2 separate regions of the Homo sapiens genome follow, and region 1 is linked to region 2. Evidence: promoter capture Hi-C in 16 types of primary human blood cells and fetal thymus (Javierre and others, 2016). All regions are on one chromosome and are shown on one strand. Each heading gives the region's core, a stretch centred on a gene start or on the middle of the fragment in contact. The rest is flanking DNA. Distances are from core to core; before and after follow the strand shown.

Region 1 (4,553 bases), core at 36-2,535, 1.6 Mb after region 2:
AAAGTGTGTCAACATCTTTACTTGAAATATTTGGTTCATAAACATGGGTCTCTGTTCTGAAAGTGAATTTAGTCCAATAAGACTGCCTACTACAAAGTTGGAAATAATATTTTATGCTGAGTATTAGGGTCAATAAGCAGTAAGGTTCTTACCCAGCTCTGGGGAGTGCAGGAGTAACAACATCTTCCAACAAATGGCCTTTTCCGACTCATTAGGCTTTCTTTCCATTTTAAAGTTGCAGATCTGAAGATGGTGGGTCTAAAGCCACACTCACCCTGACAAATATTAAGAAAAAAATATAGTTTCTAAATGGCAAGAGAATACTTGTCTACTTGATCTCAAAATCTAAAGTATTTTGAACAGAAGAAAAACTTATGGCATATTCTGGGTGATTTTCATTTAAGTACTCCCTCCATGATCAACACTTGGATAAAAGCTTACCACATAAGCAAAAGCTGAGCACCCAAGGATAGTAATAGCTACACACTGAAGGCAGTATTCAAAAATTTAAAAACTAAATTGTAGAAGGTCAAACAGACTTCTGACAGCTAGATAAATCAATTCAGACTCCTGGATCTCTAGTCTAACAATTAACCTTACCCCCTTTTAAATCACACAGTCGCACTACAGAACTATAAAGGCCTTACATAGTGAGCAAGTTTTTATAATTTTACTTTAAATAAAAAACAGGTAAACTTATATAACATTCCTTTATCTTATCAAGGGAACTTAAAGACCAGAACTTAAATTATAGCTATACTATTCAATTAGGGTCAAACCTTGCTCTTCTATTCTAAAAATGCTTAACTTTGAGCTCAGTTGCTCACATCTCTGTTATACAGATATAACATTCTCAAAATTAAGCAAAAAAAAAAACCCCACCATTTTTTATATAAAGACAATTAAGATATTTAAAATACGTCATGTTATATTGAAATAGGAAAAACAATCCAAGAAAATGTACGCCTTTTGGATTGAATTCATACTATAAGTTCCTAATTTTTTAAAGTTTACTTCTATTATAAAATTCATGCTTTTCAAGTATAACTCATGGAAAGTACATACCAAGAGAAAGAAAGAAAAAAAAATTTCTTACCGACCCAAAACTACTACTAGGGTTTTTTTCCTATGCAAAATGATTATTTTGTTTTCTAACATAATCAGTGTACATAAATTTTCTAACCATTTTTTCTTCCCAATATAATGCCATAAAATTTTTTATTAGGCTTCATAAACATACCAGTTTCTGTAGCTATTAATCTTGATGTGATATTATGTTGCTGCCAGTATTTGCACCTTCATAAACATCATTGAAATGAACATTTTTAGGCTGAGTGCTTTTAACTCTTATCCTAAACTTACCCATTCCTCACTTGTGTGCTTACATCGACCAACACTGTATTCTGATGAATGTGGCAGATAAGAAACATCTATTGTACCAAGGGTCAGTGCAGATTCATCCATGTCACAAAGTGTAATTCCCAAATCATGTGCTATAAAAAATAGGTACCATTTAAATTAACAAGGAATCGAGAGAGTAAATACTAGAACTCAAAATTCTGATTTCTACATTACTTTGCTCCACAATGGGATATCACATGAACTGACAGACTTCTACCATGTTGAGTCACAAGGTAAAAACTGACTTTGATGTGTTTATATGAACACAGTTAGGCTTCCCTGACTAGAAAAAAAAAAAATCAGCATTTGTATTCTAAGACTTCCTGAATATATAAGGATACAACATTGTATCCTTTGTATCCACACAAAATAGCTATGAATAGTATCCAAACAAAACATAGTATGCAAACAAAATAGTATCCAAACAAAATAGCTATGAATTGTATCCAAACAAAATAGCTATGAATAGTCATTTGCAAATGAAAATAAGAGCTTATTCTTATTTCATTTTTGTTAATTGAATAGTTCCTGGCAGAAGGAAGGCATGTTTATTTAATTAAGGCAATTAGGGCACCCCTTAAGTTCCCGTACTTAAATTAAGATCTTAATTTTCTTGTGATGTCCTAAAAGAACATTTTCACTTTTAATACAAAGGTAATACAAAGCTACAAAGCTCTGAAAGAAAAGCACACTATTTTGAAATATCTGATGTATAAGTTTTCATCCTTTTCGATAAGCTTTTTTCTACCCTAAGGAAAAAGATTCACTAAGAGTAAACTCCTAGAATAGATATTAATCCAAAATATAAAAACTTTCAAACATAATCTCTAGCCTCACATTATTTTTGCTTTTGGCTGTTTCTCACCTGGCCTAAAATTATTCCTTTAAAATCCTGAAAGGTCATGTCTAGATTAACAGTGTTCCTTTGGAAGGCATATTCCAATTTCTTTACAATCCCCACATGGGTTGGCTACAGTCACTGTTATTCTCGGCATAACCACCTATGTCCTTAAAAATTTAACATAAGTACAATCTAACATAACAGGCTAGGGGAGAGAATAAACCAATGCACCTGGGATGAAAGTTCTTCTGTTTCATAACATAAAACTTCAGGACTCAGCTATCAGTTTCGGGTGCAGAATGTCCATACAACAGGGGAGCCGCTGCTGCCTGAGAAAATGAAGTGAAGAGAGGATGAGGAGAGGACAAAGAGGCTCGTTTGTGCCAACAGGAGGTCCACGTTTTGCACTTCCTCCCTCCGCACAGTTCGCTCTAGGTCAAGGAGTAATAAAGAAGCAATATCCCAGAGGCACCAGCCAGCAGCATGCGCTGAGAGAAGCTGACTAGAGGATCTGAAAAGGACAGAGGCTGGAAGACCAGCTGTGAGGTTTAAATCTTCCACTGCTTACCATCTGTGTGATTTTTTATTACCATAAGTTGGTTAACTTCTATGCCTTAGTTTTCCCATCTGGAAAATGGGCAGAATGATAGCTCTTAACCTCCTGGATTGTTGAGAGGACGGAATAATATAAACAAAGGGTCTACCACAGTGTGTAACACACAGTGAGCGCTCAGTCCAATCAATGGTAACGCTGTCATTAATTATCTCCAGCATACCGGCTGCTCTCAGAGTACCCCTTACTGCCTCAATGTTCCCTAGGGACCCAGGCGGGCTGGCTGGCGGCGCCTCCGCGCGTGCAGATACTTAGGGGACTGAGTCCATAAGGACTCCTTCCAACCCAGGGGAACCCATGCCCCAGCGCAGTCTCCCCAGGAGAGATGAATCCTGATCCCCACCCCTGCACGAGCCCGACCGATTTCTCAGGGAGAAGACCGGAGCTCGGGTGTCAGGGAATAGGGGACACGACTGCCCCAGCAACTTGCAGGAGTCGCACCACCTCCATGCACTTGTCCCGGCGCTCCCGGCCCGAGTAGCCTCCCGCAGCCCACACCTGCCCTGGCAGTTCGCACCCTAGCAGCTCCAGCTTCGGCTGCTGCAGAAGCCCGCACTTCCAGTCCCGGCCAATGCCAGCTGCAGTGGCGCACCCTGATGACGCAACCGGCGCGTGGCATTGACGCGGGGCCGCCGGCTAGCCAGCGCCGGGGGCGGGGCCCGGCCTGCGAGCCTCAGGGAGCGTGAGCGGATCCGAGGGTGTAATGTGTGTACTCGAGTGTGCGTGCCTGTGTGTGGCTAAAGATAGTGTGTGAGCGCCTGGACAGATGGTTACCCTGCCTAGGCCATGCGTGTGTGAGTGTGTGTGGGTACCTCATTCTGCTTTGTGTAAATTCAGCTTATCCGGGAGCTTGTCCCTCTTCCAGGCTCTGTTGGGAATGTGCGCGTGGGCTATCAGGTTATGTGTGTGGTCTGACTTTTTATGAGATCTGTAAGACTATGTAGGATTTACTACGAATGGGAGAGGCAGGGATTGCAAATGGCCATGTTGTGTAATTTCTACCAAAGTGGCTGAGTGCCTTTTCCTTTAAGGAGGAAAATGAGATATGAAAAGAAGCAAATAAGGCTTGTAGTATAAAAAGCCTCAGTTAGGAGAAATAAGGGCTTTTTTCCCCCTTCGGACTATATGTTACACAGCATGGTGAATATAGTAAATAATAATGTATTATACAGTTCAAAATCGCTAAGAGTACATTTCAAAAGTTCTCACCATGAAAACTGAGAAGTATTTGAGGTGGATATGTCAATTAGCTTGATTCAGTTATTCCACATTGTATTCATAAGTCATAACATCGATTTGTACCCCCTAAATATATGCAACTATTTAGATAGTTTAAAATTTATAGCAATCCAGTCTAGCCAGCTAAGATGGAGCAACAGGACTGAATTTACTCTCCTGCCTAAAACAACTAAAAACAAAAACAAACAGGCATTTATAAGACAATGGCTTTTAAACGTTGTGCTGGACAGTGGTCCTTGAGGAGGGAAAACAAATGAGGTGAGCCCTATGATTGCCTTGATTTACTAACTAGAGGGAGCAGCCAAAAAGAGCTAGGCAGACTCCCTGAGTTGAAGAGATAGAACTGGGAGAGCAGGGAGGCCAAAGCAGCTGGAACTGTGAGTTGTATATCAGAAAGGAGAAAGCTACACAGAGAAAGAAGGAGCTGTGGAGATCTACAACAGATCTCACTCCAGTCTT
Region 2 (4,622 bases), core at 260-2,759:
CTGGGCTTGGTGGCCACAGCCTGTAGGCTGAGGTGGGAGGATGGCTTGAACCCAGGAGTTTGAGGCTGCAGTGAACCATGACCGAGCCACTATGCTCCAGCTCCACCCTGGGTGACAGAGCAAGATCCTGTCAAAAAAAAAAAAAAAAGTTAGAAATAAAGAAAAGAAAATGCTTACATATTTATTTAATTTATTTTGAGACAGTCTCGCTCTGTTGCCCAGGCTGGAGTGCAGTGGCGCGATCTTGGCTCACTGCAACCTCTGCCTCCTGGATTCAAGCAATTCTCCTGCCCCAGCCTCCCGACTAACTGGGATTACAGGCACCCGCCACGACGCCCAGCTAATTTTTGTATTTCGAGTAGAGACGGGGGTTTCGCCATGCTGGCCAGGCTGGTCTTGAACTCGTGACCTCAGGTGATCCTCCCCCCTCAGCCTCCCAAAGTGCTGGGATTACACGCTTGAGCCACTCGACCAGGCCTATTTATTTTTTTAAACCAAGGGCTGGATAGGATTTGATCCGGGCTCCAGATAAAGGACTCCTAGGGAGATACCCTGGTTAGCAGAGGCAGTTAGGAGGCTACTAAAAATAGTTCAATCTAGAAATAATTAGGGCCAGAATTGTCTCCAGCAGCGGGCGGGGGTGGGGCTGGGGATGATTTGGGTAGTTATTTTGTTCTCTTCCCAGCAAGTAATTTCAGAGCAGCCCAGAGATTCATTTTCTAAACAAATGATGTTTTTCTCCCAAGACTGACAAGGATCAGACAGACCTAGGGTTGCCACTAGCACCTAGTATCTTTCAGGCTGTTTTCTTTTGTTTTTAAAGTGGATTAAAAGCTTTCAGCCTTACCTAAATCTTTGTTGCAATTGTACAGATCTGCCTAGATTTATAGCAGATGGTAGAACAGAAACAGTTCCCGACGGAATTAATCATCACATTATTAAAACAAATTTTCGAGCATTGACAAATCCCTTCGGGGTTGTCCTCCGAGTGGGCAATTCGTAACCAGCTTGGGGCGTGCTAAGATTGTAAACGTTCCTATGGAGAGCGATAACAAAGGGGCAGCAGTGACTCCGCACACAGAATTCCAAGAATCACCAGCATTCCATGTGTTCCAAGGCTAGCACAGTGCGCGCGAGGTCCGCTTTTTTAAACAGCGCGGAATCACGTGGCCGACAGCCCGCGGCGCTACTGGCCCTCGGAGTCTCCCTCTTGGCTTTGGCGCGGAACCTTTCCCCCTTTGTGGACGCGACCATTGGCCCCGCGCTCGGAGGTGGTACGGACCAACCCTACGGTCATAGATTTTCCGAGTGAAGCTTTTGACTAAGTCTCAGGAAAGCGTTAGCTACAGAATTCTAGATTCAAAAGAAATCCACCAAAAAACGCTGTGGAGGACTGGTTTTGCCTAAAAGAAAGAGCAGACCTGAACTTGACTCCTCCTACGCCCTGTGAAGGCTGCAAGGTGGTTCCGTCCGAGGCGCGGACTCCGCCCCCACGAGCGCCGCCATTTTGTTTGGCTGAGGGGAGCGAGCGGCGCTTTGGGGGAGGGGTCGCGTAGGCGCCTCACCTGACCCTGCGGCCGTGCGGTTGCTGCTCCGGGGCAGGTCTCCTTCCAGGCCAGGGGCCCGGAATCATGTACATAAAGCAGGTAAGGCCTTCGCGTCCCTCCACCCCGTCATGGGCCGGTAAGGGCCGCTCCTTGAGGCGGGAGTGTTGCGGCGCCACCCGCAGCCTCTCCCCTGTCTCCACAGGCTGGACCAGGGCTGGGCGGGGACTGTGGGGGAGGAGGGAGACCCGGGTCCCGCTAGTGCCCCGGCTGCGGGGTCGCGGAGAATTGGGGCACTCCTTTGCAGCCCCGGCCTCCCTGCTGGCGCTTGTCTGGGAGAGGCAGGATCTCCGAGAGGTGTGGAAGGGCCGGCGGGCGGGCCGCTGGGAGGGACTGGGCCTTCCTGGGTGGCCCCAGAGCTGGCGGGGGGCACCCCGCCGGGGCGGCCGCGGGCGGGAAGGGCTGTGTGGTCCTGCAGGGGTGGCCTCACACGGCCCATGTGCCTGGGATGTGTGGAAAGGTGGCTTCCCCGGCCCGGGGGCGGCCCTGGGGGCATTGGCTGGGGTGTCGTCACCTGTCACTGCGGGGAGCCGTTCTTCTCCCCAGTTAACCCGCGAAGTGAGCGGGACCCTCCTGCTTGCAGGATACGGAGCGCCGCCTCCCTCGGTTGTTTACTTCTGTCAAAATGGTCTTCCCGCGCGGGACTCCACCACAAAGATGAGCCCAGGCACACGGCCTTGGAGACGGTTTTCTGTTGGGTCTGTCGGGCTCTGAGCACTCCTTCTTTGGAACGTGGGTTCTTTCAGGCTGGCCGGCGTGAGTGACTGAAAGCAGCACTCGGTGGTCTTGGAGTCAGGAGAGCTGGGGCCCGTCGGCCTGCTTTTATAGACTTGCTATTGTACTGCAGCGTTTAGGGTTCAGTTAAGCTCACACAGTGTTTTTGATTTTGAAAGGTCCTTAACAGGTTGACAGCATAACTCCTAAAAAAAAATAAAACCCAGCAGCATTGCCTTGGCAAAGATTACCGATAAAAGTACCTTTTTTTTTTTTTAGCAGATTTTTAATCACCACTTTCCAAAATGAATTTTTCTTATATGAAATTTCGAGTTTTCTATATTGCATTAAATGAAAAACAAGAAAGAAATGCAAGAGAAAAATGTTAATTTTTTTTGTGGGGTGGGTTCTCAAAAATGTTTTTTATTTACTAGGTGATTATCCAGGGTTTTCGAAGTTACAGAGATCAAACAATTGTAGATCCCTTCAGTTCAAAACATAATGTGATTGGTAAGTGTTCTTGGTTTACTCGGTCATATTTATAGTCTATACAGATAATGTAAATTCTGTCCATTTCTATATTGGCTTAAGGAGACAGGAATTGTCTTTGAATATTAAGTTATATTTTTCTGCGTGAAATAACTTTTCTGTCTTATTGCACTGATGAATTGCTTATTTTTATAAACTTAAAATGTTTGGATAAGACACTCATAAGTTATCCATTTTTTATCTAGGTAGCCTTGTATGTGTGTGTAAGAGTGTTTTAAAGCATTTCCGCTCTTCTGTTCTTGTTATATATCCTAGTGAAAATGCTGACTGTTGCCTTATTTCAGAGACAGACAATTTTTATTCACAAAGTAGATGCCAGGATTCCCCCCCCACCCCGGCAGTCAGTGTCTCTAAGGACAGACCATGTAGCTAGATTGGAAGAGCATAAACTTTGGAGCATAACAGAATGGGGTTCAAATCCCAGTTATAGGGGGGTGGGGGCCTGGGGGAGGGATAGCATTAGGAGAAATACCTAATGTAAATGTCGAGTTGATGGGTGCAGCAAACCAACATGGCACATGTATACCTATGTAACAAACCTGCATGTTGTGCACATGTATCCTAGTATAACAACAACGAAAAAAAAAATCCCAGTTGTGGCACACGTTCTTTTTCACTTTCTGAGAAGCTTCAGTTTTCTCATTTGTAAAGTGGAGATGATACCTGTCTCATAGGGCTGTTGAGAAGATTAAATGAGAAACCTTATGTAAGTGTGAAGATAAAGAGCTAATGGTGATTGCCATTAACAATATGTAGTCATTATAGATTGCTCAGATTGTAGTGTGCATTTTGCTGATACAGCTAACAAAAATGTTTTCTGACACTCTGCTGAGTATTTTACAGGATAGATGAAAGGAGTGCTTCTGGACACCAGAAACACAGACTGCTGTTGACACAGTTTTGCTGTACAGAGTCCAAACTAAGTGGTGTATTAGTTTGCTAAGGCAGCCATAACAAAATACCATAGACTGGTGGCTTAAACAAGATATTTTTTTTCTCATAGTCTGGAGGTCAGACATCCATGATCAGGATACCTGCATGGTTAGGTTCTCGTGAGGCTCTCTTCCTGGCTTATGGACAGCTGCTGTCTTGCTGTGTGCTCACATGGCCCCATCCTCATGTCCTCATTTAACCATAATCATCTTCCAGGGGTCCCCATGTCCAAATACTATCACATTCGGGATTAAGGTGTCAGTTGTTTCAGGGTGTCAGTTCAATTCAGTCTGTGGTGCGTGGGTGAGATTCACATTACTAATGTTTCCAGAAGACCTTTAGAGAATCATACTTCATTTTGTATAAAATGATAAAATTGAAGGCAGGTTTTTTTGCCCTCGATTTATCAATAGCAGCCTTGTAGTTGGGAATAAAGAAGGCATACTTTTTTTTTCCCTGCTTGTGCTCTGTCTACTGAAGTCATTTAATTGAATTGACATGCCATAGGGTGGCTTAATTGTACTGGGGTTTTGCTTACATATAAGTACTTTCTGATTTTTTTCATCAATCAGAAAATCTTTAGAAATGTAGAAAAATAAGAATTATTAGATTTCTGTTTTCTTTAACTTGCACCTTAAAATAAGTACCTTAATATTTCATTTGTGTGATTTTATAAATGATCTGTAACTTACTAGCTAGAATGATTACATTTTGTCTATAAGGTCCATCAAATACCATTGTTTTAGCTGTTATCAGTTAGTTGTGTTACCTCTGTGATTGCAGCATTAGATTTGTTAATAGTCACTGTTACAAAGGAAAATG

Evidence for each region. Contacts are between HindIII fragments. The CHiCAGO score rates a contact against its expected background, and 5 or more counts as called.
Region 1: a fragment that was not itself captured here is called in contact with the fragment with the promoter of SMC3 in region 2 in 5 of 17 cell types (naive CD4 T cells, total CD8 T cells, total CD4 T cells and 2 more); the score reaches 8.5 in naive CD4 T cells.

What each region holds. Positions count from the first base shown.
Region 1 is chr10:112,180,321-112,184,873 of GRCh38, forward strand. GPAM (glycerol-3-phosphate acyltransferase, mitochondrial) reads right to left here and starts at 3,445. Exons shown (of 22, transcript NM_001244949.2): 1 at 3,373-3,445; 2 at 2,474-2,571; 3 at 1,363-1,493; 4 at 153-275. The coding sequence starts at 1,464. RefSeq lists a silencer at 3,363-3,592. The HindIII fragment of the contact is 1,702 bases long and covers 435-2,136 here.
Region 2 is chr10:110,566,186-110,570,807 of GRCh38, forward strand. It overlaps SMC3 (structural maintenance of chromosomes 3), which reads left to right and starts at 1,510. Exons shown (of 29, transcript NM_005445.4): 1 at 1,510-1,646; 2 at 2,753-2,828. The coding sequence starts at 1,632. It overlaps LOC105378483 (a long non-coding RNA gene), which reads right to left and starts at 1,123. Exons shown (of 2, transcript XR_946318.2): 1 at 848-1,123. RefSeq lists enhancers at 1-515, 1,330-1,379, 1,390-1,489 and a silencer at 1,830-2,119. The HindIII fragment of the contact is 2,181 bases long and covers 1,313-3,493 here.